Regions from separate parts of the Homo sapiens genome. Here region 2 is linked to region 1. The links are contacts of gene promoters, found by promoter capture Hi-C in blood cells and fetal thymus (Javierre and others, 2016). All regions are on one chromosome and are shown on one strand. Each heading gives the region's core, a stretch centred on a gene start or on the middle of the fragment in contact. The rest is flanking DNA. Distances are from core to core; before and after follow the strand shown. Region 1 holds the start of PEAK1 (pseudopodium enriched atypical kinase 1). Region 2 overlaps PEAK1 (pseudopodium enriched atypical kinase 1).

Region 1 (5,218 bases), core at 77-2,576:
AATATGGGTTCTCTGACTATACACATCACTACATCACTTCATTTATCGGGGGAAAAAAAAAGACGCTGTGGCTGAACAAAAATCAGTAAGTAGGCCCCAAAACAGAATCCTCAAGGCAATCCCAATTCAGGTGAAAAGCTGTTCACGTACATCATCCAATGACCTAAAAATAGTCTTTTATGTAAGTCTCTAAGTATTTAATTCAACGTATGATCTTACCACATTCAACAGAGGCAGAAAAAAAATCAATTAGGTTTTCTATAGCAAGGCCAATAAAGATGAAATCATAGTTTTCCTCTAACTCATCACTACCCCCTCAACGTCAGCCTTCCAATAACTCCATTCCACAGCTCTCAAATTCCTGAACTTGGATCTTTAAAAAACAACGAATCGCAAAAAGTAACATTTAACAGGCCAGAGGCAGGCGGGGGAGGAGGGTCTCTCCCGGTGCTCTCAGCAATCTTTAACGTAGCCAAAGGAGGAAAAAACGAAATCAAGCTCCCAGACGGATGGTGCATGCGACGAGAGGGGAGGGGGCAGACGCGGTTCAGACGGCAAGTCCCCATCGAAGGAGGAAAGAAAAGTTGCAAGAACGGATGGGTCAAAGGGCAGAAAAGAAAAAAACTGAGCAGCCGAACCACTCACAACCCCCAAACGACCCCGCCAGCCCACACGTTCGCGGGCTCCCCAGCCGCGGCGCGAAGGGAGCAGGCAGGGAGCCACCCGGCTCCGTCCCGACGCTGCCGGCGAGGCTGCGCCGATGCTCCCGGGTGCGGGAGCGGGCTGACCGTGTGGACCCGGCAGGAGCCAGAGAAGCCCCTCCTGCCCCGGCCTCCCCGCGTCCAGCTCCTCCAGGCTTCACTTTCCCCCGCAACCTCCCAGCCGCGCCCGGGGGCGTCCCTCGCGGCAGGTCCCAACTTTCCTTCCTCTGGGGGGCGTCGCGCTCCCGGGGCCGCCGCCGAGGGAGGGGGCAGGGGCGGCAGGGGGCGCGCGGCACCGGCGGGGCGCGGGGGTGGCCGGGGAGCTAGAGCCCGCGCCGGGCGGGACGCACCGGCCGCCAGAGCCCCGGCGGCGGCGCCACCCAGAACCCGCGCCGCCACCCAGAACCCGCGCCGCCCCGCCCGGATTCCCCCGGGTCAGCGCCCTCAACCCGCGGCAACCCTGGTCCCACAGACGGCGCGTGAGTAGAAGACAACCGAGCGGACGCGGACAGCCGGGCCGCTGTTACCTGAGGGGCGCACACGCCGCCGCGGCGACCACCATCACCGTCCGTCCCGTCCCCTTCCTGGTGACCACGGCCGCCGCCGCCGAGCAACTGACACTGACTAACAACAACTAACTAACTACTCGCCGCGGCCGAGTCCACCGCGCGCTCCCGGCCGCTCGCCGCCCGCCCAGCCCACCAGCCTGCCCGCCTCCTCTCGGCCCCGCGCGCCGCCCCTCCGCGCGCGCCCTCGCCCGCTCGCCGCGCTCCTGGAGCCGTGAGCACGCGCGCGCTCACGGGCCCCGGTCGTCTCCCAGGTCTCCCTCAGCCCCAGCGGGAGGAGTCACCGCCAGGCCCCTCCTCTCTGCCTTCCAACCTCCAGAGGACGAGACCTAAAGGGTGCCTGATTGGCTGCGGAGGGCGGGGCTAAGACAAGGGGCGGGGCTGCCGAGACCTTGGGCCCGCGTGAGGGAAAATTTGGGTTCGATTAAGCCGCAGAGGAAAAGACCAGGGGAGTCTGGGCCCATTTGGGCGTCGGGGCCCGCTAGGTCAGCCGTCATCGAATACAGAATATGTTTTCGAGGACGCTAATATGTAGTCATGACCAATTTCAGTTCTTCTACTTTCTGCGGGCCTTCGCAATAAAAAAAAAAAAACTACATCTCCCAGAAACCTCCACGAAAATAAGGCTCACCTTGCGTAACCACGTAGTCCTTCGCCGCATTGGGGCAAAATAATCCCTTCATTTTTGTGAAGGTACCGTGGAAAATATTTCATTTTTCTTCTCACCGGAGCAATTGTAAATGCTATGCGGTAAGAGGAGTTACCTGTGGAAAGGTGGTTAAGAGATTAGGTAAAGAAAAGGAAAGGACACCAAAATAAAGTGCTGCGGAAGAATTTTTGTCCAGCTGTGAGACGACGAGTGCGTGAAGTGAAGGCGATTGAGAGGGGCTGAGGGAATTGTCCTCTGTGGAAGGGACTTTCTTTTGGCCCTAGGCCCCTTCCTGCCCCTGTCGTCAGCAGGTCAGTAAGCAAGGCGAGCTTGGGGGTGGCCCCAGTCGAGATGCCCTTCACCCCTTGAAGATCACCCCTCTTTTGGTGGTGGTGGTACTGGTTTGTCTCAGTTGGAGGCCGGCTGAATGGGGGCGCCTCAACTTCCGGTTGGGGGAGGGGAGGAAGGCCGTCCTGGGGAGGGGGGACACCCTCACTTCCTGTGGGGGGGTGGTGATGGTTTGGGGGTGTCCGACCCACTTCCAGTGCTGATGAGGGCTTGAAAAGGTGGTGCTTGGTGCCATTCGCGGAGACATTATCTTGCAGCTTGGGGATTGTGTTTTATGTGAAAAGTTAGATTATTCCAAGTTGTGCTGAACACCAACCTGCAGTCAGAATTTATGAGTTTGCTTCCACGTGGAATATGGAGCATTTCCTCCCCAGCAAAATTGTCTGTGTTTTCTTCAAAGAATTCGAAAGCCCTTGTTAAAAATCTCTATGCACCTTTGCAAGACGACATAGCTTGTGTGACTGATGAATTGCCAACACCTGCACCCCTACTCAAGTCCAGCCTTGGCTGGGTGAAGTGTGGTGCCCTCTGCCTTGACATGCAACAGGAAATCTAGCTTCTCTTTTAAGGAGATAACTTTTTATTTAGGGGACTGAATATTTTACATAAAATCTGGGGCATTTTCATCTTAGCAGAATGAAAGTATCACACTGAAGTACTCAAATTTGAGGTTACCTTAACTGATAAAATTGACATCTTAAATTATTAGGACTGTTGATTTTGGGCTACAGGTTTTGCCCTGTGCCTGAGAACAGCTTCTTCAGCCTTAAAAATTCTTATGTGTAGCTTACACGTAACATTTTTGAAAGTTGTATTTTATTACATTTTCCTCCTTTGTAATTTAATTCATCACTGATTTTTAAATGGTATCTGTTCTTTGTGGTTTTAAAGTATAAAGCAAGGGTCATGAGACTCAGCTCAGATTCTAAACAGGAAAAAGTTGGCTCACAAAGGACAAAAGGTCAATAAGAACTTTCTGGTTTTCAGTAGCTCATTTTTAATAAACTATATGTGAGGCGGTAATAAACACTCAATAATTTTGATTCCTTGGTTCTGTTGTCAGATAACACAATACTTAGAAGGGTGTGTGTCTGTGTATTGAAGGAATCAATCTATTTGAAGCTTACTTTGTGAAATCTGAATGTTAGTAATTTTAGTATATATATCAGTGAACCTAGAACTGTATTGTCTTGCAAGAATTTTTGAAGTAATAAGGCCTGTGTACTTTTTCTTTTGGGATTGTACTTAATCTAGCCTCAGACTCTGCGATTATTTTAATTCTATAATAGTTTTTTTAAAAAGCTGTTTGGTCACGCCTGTAATCACAGCACTTTGGGAGGCCTAGGCGGGCAGATCACGAGGTCAGGAGTTCGAGACCAGCCTGGCCAGCATGGTGAAACCCCGTCTCTACTAAAAATACAAAAATTAGCTGGGCGTGGTGGCGTGCGCCTGTAGTCCCAGCTACTCAGGAGGCTGAGGCAGGAGAATTGCTTGAACCCGGGAGGCGGAGGTTGCAGTGAGCCAAGATCGCTCCACTGCACTCCAGCCTGGGCGACAGTGAGACTCCGTCTCAAAAATAGATAAATAAATAAATAGCTGTTTGGGTTAGGGTTCATTAGAAAATATGTTTTAAACCAAATATTACAGTAAAAAAAAATACATGTTTTAATCTTCTGTGGTCACTTTTAAAAAAGAATCTAAGACCCTAAAATCAAGTATGATTTATATTTTGAAAGACCACACGATTGCTGCAGTAGTTGACTGAAAAAGCAAGACAAAACATTGTCTTTGTGGTTATTAATAGGTTAGGAACATGTAGACTGCCCGAAGTAAGAATTAATTGATTAAAGAAGAAGTGTTCACTATCTTCTATATTAATGTAATATAGAAGAAAATATAATATGGTCACCCTGACAAATGAAACTGTAGTGTTAGGAATTATTGAAGTATGGAAAGATTGTAGAACTAAATGAAAAAAATAGAGAATATCATGTTAAAATACTGATTGAGATAGAGTAATATTGCCTTTTGGAAACTGTCTTTATTAAATTGGTCTTTATGGTACTCCATGGAAGAAATACAGTATAATAGAAATAAGAAAAATTGTTGCAGCTGAAAGACTTGAGCAGCTTGAAGAACTATCTGTTTAGAAGAAAGCAATATATAAAATACCTATCTGAAAGAAGGTATTTTGTGATAAGTGGCAGTTATTCATTGGTTCCATCAAAGAAGAAATATTAGAAAAGCTTGTGAAAAATAGAGAGAGAAGGTCCATAGAACCTGTTTTTATTCTTTTTAAAAATGTTTCTTTAGAGAGGCTTGCTGTCCTCCAAAGGTTTTTTTTTCTTAATGCCCTTTGTGCAGTTTTCTTTGCATGTTTAATAGAAATATAGTATCAAAATTTAAAGAATTAATATTTTTGTACATGTACTGTTACTTCAAGTTAATGAATTTGAGATTTCATTCCATTACTTGCCATATATGTAACAAAGAAAGTGTCAAATCTTTTTTTCAAATACTTGGATTAGATAACCATTTTCTTTTCCAAAGACAGTCATTGGATACACTGCTCACAGCAGTTTGAAATATTAAAACCGTAGGTCACAATTCTGGATTCCATCTGACTGAAATTAGATTATCCACAGAGATGTTATACATAATACAGAAGTGTCTTTTCATTCTTTCATCTACTTTACTTTGTAAAATCAGGCTAATGTTTTGCAACTGTTGCTTTCCTTGTTTGTCGTTTTGGTGGTGGTTTGTTTTTGTTGTTGTTTTTGCCGTAGGGTTGAGGATTAAAGAAAGTATCTTAAGAACCTGAATGGTTTTTCACCTTACTGCTTTGCTGTCTCTATTTCATAGCCTTCACAGGTATTCAAATGAGAATACCCTTTACGTGACTTTTCATTATTTAAGCAAAAGTTTAGAGTGTCTACTATATGCCAGTCACTGTT
Region 2 (4,952 bases), core at 723-3,222, 210 kb before region 1:
AAATACTTAACTATAGAGAACTAACTCACTGGTGAAAAACTGAAAGAATGGCCTAAGAAAAATAGGAAGTCATGACCAATTATTAAATAATAATATTTGTCTTTACCACCTCCATTACTGCTTTGTATAGCAGCAATAAAACATAGATGTTATCTAAAGGGTTTCTTTCCATTGTACTAATTTTTGAAGGACTATCTCCAGTCTGTTCTTAACTATTTTTGGAAGTTAGGGAAGATTTGTCTACAGACTAGCAAGTAAACTGACAGTATAGATTCAACTACTTACTGGCATAATGGAAAGCCAGGAAATGAGTGTTGAAAAAAGTTCTATACAAAGAAAATTGAAACCAGATCTAAAAAAGTCTAGTCTAAGATAACCCTTTTATGTCTCTTTTTTAATATAAAAGAAAAAAATTGTTTGTGACATATAAGAGAGGATATAGAAAGTCCAAGATTTCCATATATGTACCTTCAGCTATTGAGTCTAAACACTAGCAAACGGAGATTTTCAAAGTAACCCGAATGAAGTCAAGACACTGCATCCATTTTATCCTGGGCTTATTTCTTTATCCTTCAGGAAAAGATGTCTTTTATACCAGAAACTATCAAACAAGCTAACAGATGGCAAGGGCACTGAATCAAGTCTAATTTGGGTTGAATTCAAATTTGATTATCTAGAGACATGAAAGCAATATACCTATATTAGCATCAGATGTGTAATGCTGATAAAAATGTTATGGAAGTATGATACAGCAGAGAACTTTCTGGACTTAAAAGATCCCTTTGGGCTAACTAGTTAGAAAACTCTGGCAAAGTCACAAATTCCTTCTGCCTCAGGATCCTTTACCTGCACAATGGGATGATAATAACTGGTCTTCCTTTCTGTGAGATGCTGAGAGGATACAATGGAATATTTTTAAAATTTTTTCTTCACTGGGTGTGGTAGGCAGAATAATGACCCCACAAAGATGTCCAAATCCCCAGAACTTGTGAAATTGTTACCTTATATGGATTCTCCCTTAGAGCCTTCTGAAGGAATGCAGACCTGCCAAAACCTTGATTCTAGCCCAGTGAAACTTATTTCATATTTCCGGCCTCCTGAATTCCAAGATAATAAATGTATTGTTTTAAACAATTACGTTTATGACAATTTGTTACAGCAGTAATAAGAAACTAACACACTGAGTTTGGTCTCAGCTCTGACACTTTCCCTTTCTATGTATCCCTGGGCCAGTTACTTATGTCTTTGAACTTTAGTTTCCTCATCTATCAAATAAGAATTAACAATAGCAACTACCAGTTGTTACAGAGATCAAATAGGATAACTAAGTGCTATAGCATAAGTGATTAAAAATGGTAACTATCCTTATATTTACTTCTTATGTTACACTAAGGCAATATAATGCAATTATTTTTACACAACCTACATTCAACTTATAGTTTCCATATATACCAGAGATGTATATTAAAGCTTCTATCACTAAAGTTATTGGTAATATATTGATGGACAAGTCATTAGTTTGTTCTTGCAGATCATAAAGTTGAAGTTCTTTTAGATCTCAAAGTTCCCAAAGGGAAGAAGCAATATATATGTAATTCATTTGAAACCCAGCATTTTAAATCCAGTAAAAAGTCCATTTTAAATCCAGTAAAAAGTCAAGACTCTACACTGATTTTGTCCTTAGATTACCTCCATATCCTTCAGGAAAAAGTGTCTTTTAAACCAGAAAACTTTTGATGACCAAAGATAAAATTTAAATAGGAATCTGAAGGAATAGGAAGAGAAATCATTGATTAAGAAAATAAATTCAGGCTGGGCGCAGTGGCTCACGCCTGTAATCCCAACACTTTGGGAGGCAGAGGTGGGCAGATCACCTGAGGTCAGGAGTTTGAGATCAGACTGGCCAACATGGTGAAACCCCATCTCTAGTAAAAATACAAAAATCAGCCAGGTATGGTGACAGGTACCTGTAATCCCAGCTACTCAGGAGGCTGAGGCAGGAGAATGGCTTGAACCTGGGAGGTGGAGGATGCAGTGAACCGAGGCTGCACCAATGCATTCTGGCCTTGTGTGCTCAGGGCGACAGAGCAAGTCTCTGTCTCAAAAAACAAAAACAAAATTCACAAGGAAGTTTAATGATTTGGGTTTTTAGCAATATTCAGCTAGTTTATGTCAGGAATGATTATCTCCAGGGTTTTCTACTTCTAGATCTGTGCTATTTTATTACAGTAGAGATCAGCAAACTATGTCCCATGGGTAAAATCTGGTCTGCCATCTCTTTTTGTAAAGAAAGTTTTATTAAAACAGGCAAACACATCCATTCACATACTGCCTATACCTGCTTTTGTGCTACAAAGGCAAACTGAGTAGTTGCAACAGAGACTATGCCCTGTAAAACCTAAAGTACTTAAAATTGGCCCATATACAAGAAGTATACTGTCCCTAGTGTTACAGCATATTACTTCGCAAGGCATGTAAGCTTATTTTATCTTATAAGGTGTTTCAAAACAATAGATTTTTAAAATGAACTTTCAGCAAACTATTAAGTTTACACAAATAAAGGAATACTGTGGCTTGATGTACCATATAATATTAAACATGGATGAAATTCTGGGTAGTACAGGTTCTACGGCTCCACTAAGATACCATGGAGGTGAGTTCAATTCTGGCTAAATAATGTTGATTTATTAACAGCAAAATCACTCAGCATACAAATGCTGAGCAAAATAAAATAATGACTTATGACTGCTATAATTATTATTCAATAAAAGTGACTGTAGGCCAGGCACGGCAGTTCACGCCTGTAATCCCAGCACTTTGGGAGGCCGAGGTGGGTCGATCATCTGAGGTCAGGAGTTTGAGACCAGCTGGCCAATGTGGTGAAACCCCGTCTCTACTAAAAATACAAACATTAGCCAGGCATGGTGGCAGGCACCTGTAATCTCAGCTACTCAGGAGGCTGAGGCAGGAGAATTATTTGAACCCGGGAGGCACAGGTTGCAGTGAGCCGAGATCACGCCACTGCACTCCAGCCTGGGAGAAAAGAGCGAAACTCCATCTCAAAAAAAAAAAAAAAAAAAAAAAGTGACTGTAAAGATGTTTGATCATAATTTATATTCAAAATTTATCATGATTAAAAATGCAAAATACTGTTTCCTTCTCTGGTGTTTTCATAAAACATTTATTCATTATTATTTACTGAGTTCCTCATCTTATCCTTTTATAAGACTCATACATTATGTTTTCTTTATGATCAAGTATGGGAAAGAACTAATAACTATTGGATATGAAGATGTTCTAGAAACTAAAATATATAATCATTGAATTTTCAAAATAAACTTATAAAGAAAGATTTTTCATTTCCATTTTATAGATGAAGAAACAGACTCAGGGAAAGTGAACATTCCCTCCAAGGTTAAGCTATTAAAGCCATTAGGGTGCCTAAGCTGGGAATTCAGCCCAGGTTTTTTAGTGGCCAAGGTTCTCTTTTTAGTACTTTTCCTAATTCATAATATCTCAGATTCAATGACCTCTTTGGTATATTTGGTATAGAACTGTTGGTCCAGTTAACTACTTGTTCAAGTTATTTGGATTTAAAGCTCCTTTTGAGAAAATAAAAAATTAGCCTTGCTTACTTGGGGAAGTGGAATAGCCCTAACTTTCGGAAAAAAGGTAAGTCAGTCTCCTAAATTTTAAAATAAATATCAACTCTGCTATTTATACAATTGTGTCATCTAAAGCACATGGATCTCCTCTGGACTCAACAAGACAAAATACAGACATACCGGAGACTCATAACAGAATTTGATAAAGTTTTATTCAATCAATTTTCTTTCTAAAGTTTGCTTGTTCCTATTCAACATAGGCCAAAGGACATTTTATTTATCTGCTCCCTTCACTAAACTCTATACTTGTATGTAGGTCATCTATAAACAACAAACCAGGGCAATATTATCTCAAAAGTCCTATGAAAAAGTCATAAATTAATTCAGATTTAATGTTATGAGCCTGGCTTTTTATAGAGTGATATGAGAAACATCTCATCAGAGAGCATTTCTAGCTCTTTTACAAAACCCCAGCTTGAGATATCTGAATTCTTATACCTGATGTCTCTTATATAAAGATCAATGTAATACCTCCTAAAGTTCAGTGTTAGCAAAAGTGAATTTTTCATTTATTAGCAATAAACATCTTTTTAAAGGAACACATAAGCTTGAAATCTGAAAAAAAAATCTTTTGAATAAAGAAAATTCTGAAAGATCATAATTCCCTAAGATGAATGTATTCTGAAAGCAGTATGTTTGCAGTCAGAAAAGACTGAAATCCAATTAACTGGAACCCTTCATTAACTGGAATAATGTTCTATGCAATGCTTTTGAGAAAAGGAAATAGAAAAAGACATGCAAAAATTAGGCTTTGGGAGAATCAAGGTAAAATAAAAAATGGTCCCTATACACAAAGAAATTAGCCTAGTAGGGGAGTAGAAATTTATACATAAAATGACAAAACACAGAAAATGATAATTAGGACCCTAAGATTTACAGATAAAGAGTTCTGGGAGTTCAGAGATCATTTCTACATGGCTTCCAGTAGAAAAAATAAAGGTTTTGAAAACAGATGGCAGCCGGACGCGGTGGCTCATGACTGTAATCCCAGCACTTTAGGAGGCCGAGGTGGGTGATCACGAAGACACGAGTTCAAGACCAGCCTGGCCAAGATGGTGAAACCCCATCTCTACTAAAACTACAAAAATTAGCCAAGTGTGGTAGCAGTTGCCTGTAATTCCATCTACTTGGGCAGCTGAGGCAGGAGACTCGCTTGAACCTAGGTGGCAGAGGGTGCAGTGAGCCGAGATCGCATCACTGCACTCCAGCCTGGGTGACAGAGTGAGACTCTGTCTCAAAAAAACAAAAACAAAAACAAAAAATAGGTGGCACAAACCTGGGCTTACA

The links. Contacts are between HindIII fragments. The CHiCAGO score rates a contact against its expected background, and 5 or more counts as called.
Region 2: a contact is called between a fragment that was not itself captured here and the fragment with the promoter of PEAK1 in region 1, in 1 of 17 cell types (naive B cells). The highest score is 5.1, in naive B cells.

Annotation. Positions count from the first base shown.
Region 1 is chr15:77,418,778-77,423,995 of GRCh38, forward strand. PEAK1 (pseudopodium enriched atypical kinase 1) reads right to left here and starts at 1,327. Exons shown (of 10, transcript NM_001385026.1): 1 at 1,229-1,327. HMG20A (high mobility group 20A) reads left to right here and starts at 2,111. Exons shown (of 10, transcript NM_001304504.2): 1 at 2,111-2,227. RefSeq lists silencers at 713-922, 933-1,102, 1,353-1,672 and enhancers at 2,123-2,172, 2,563-2,612. The HindIII fragment of the contact is 8,449 bases long and covers 1-3,384 here.
Region 2 is chr15:77,208,788-77,213,739 of GRCh38, forward strand. All of the region lies in intron 6 of PEAK1 (pseudopodium enriched atypical kinase 1), which reads right to left. Among named protein-coding and RNA genes, the nearest start is that of LINC00597, 14 kb to the right of the region's middle. The HindIII fragment of the contact is 1,009 bases long and covers 1,469-2,477 here.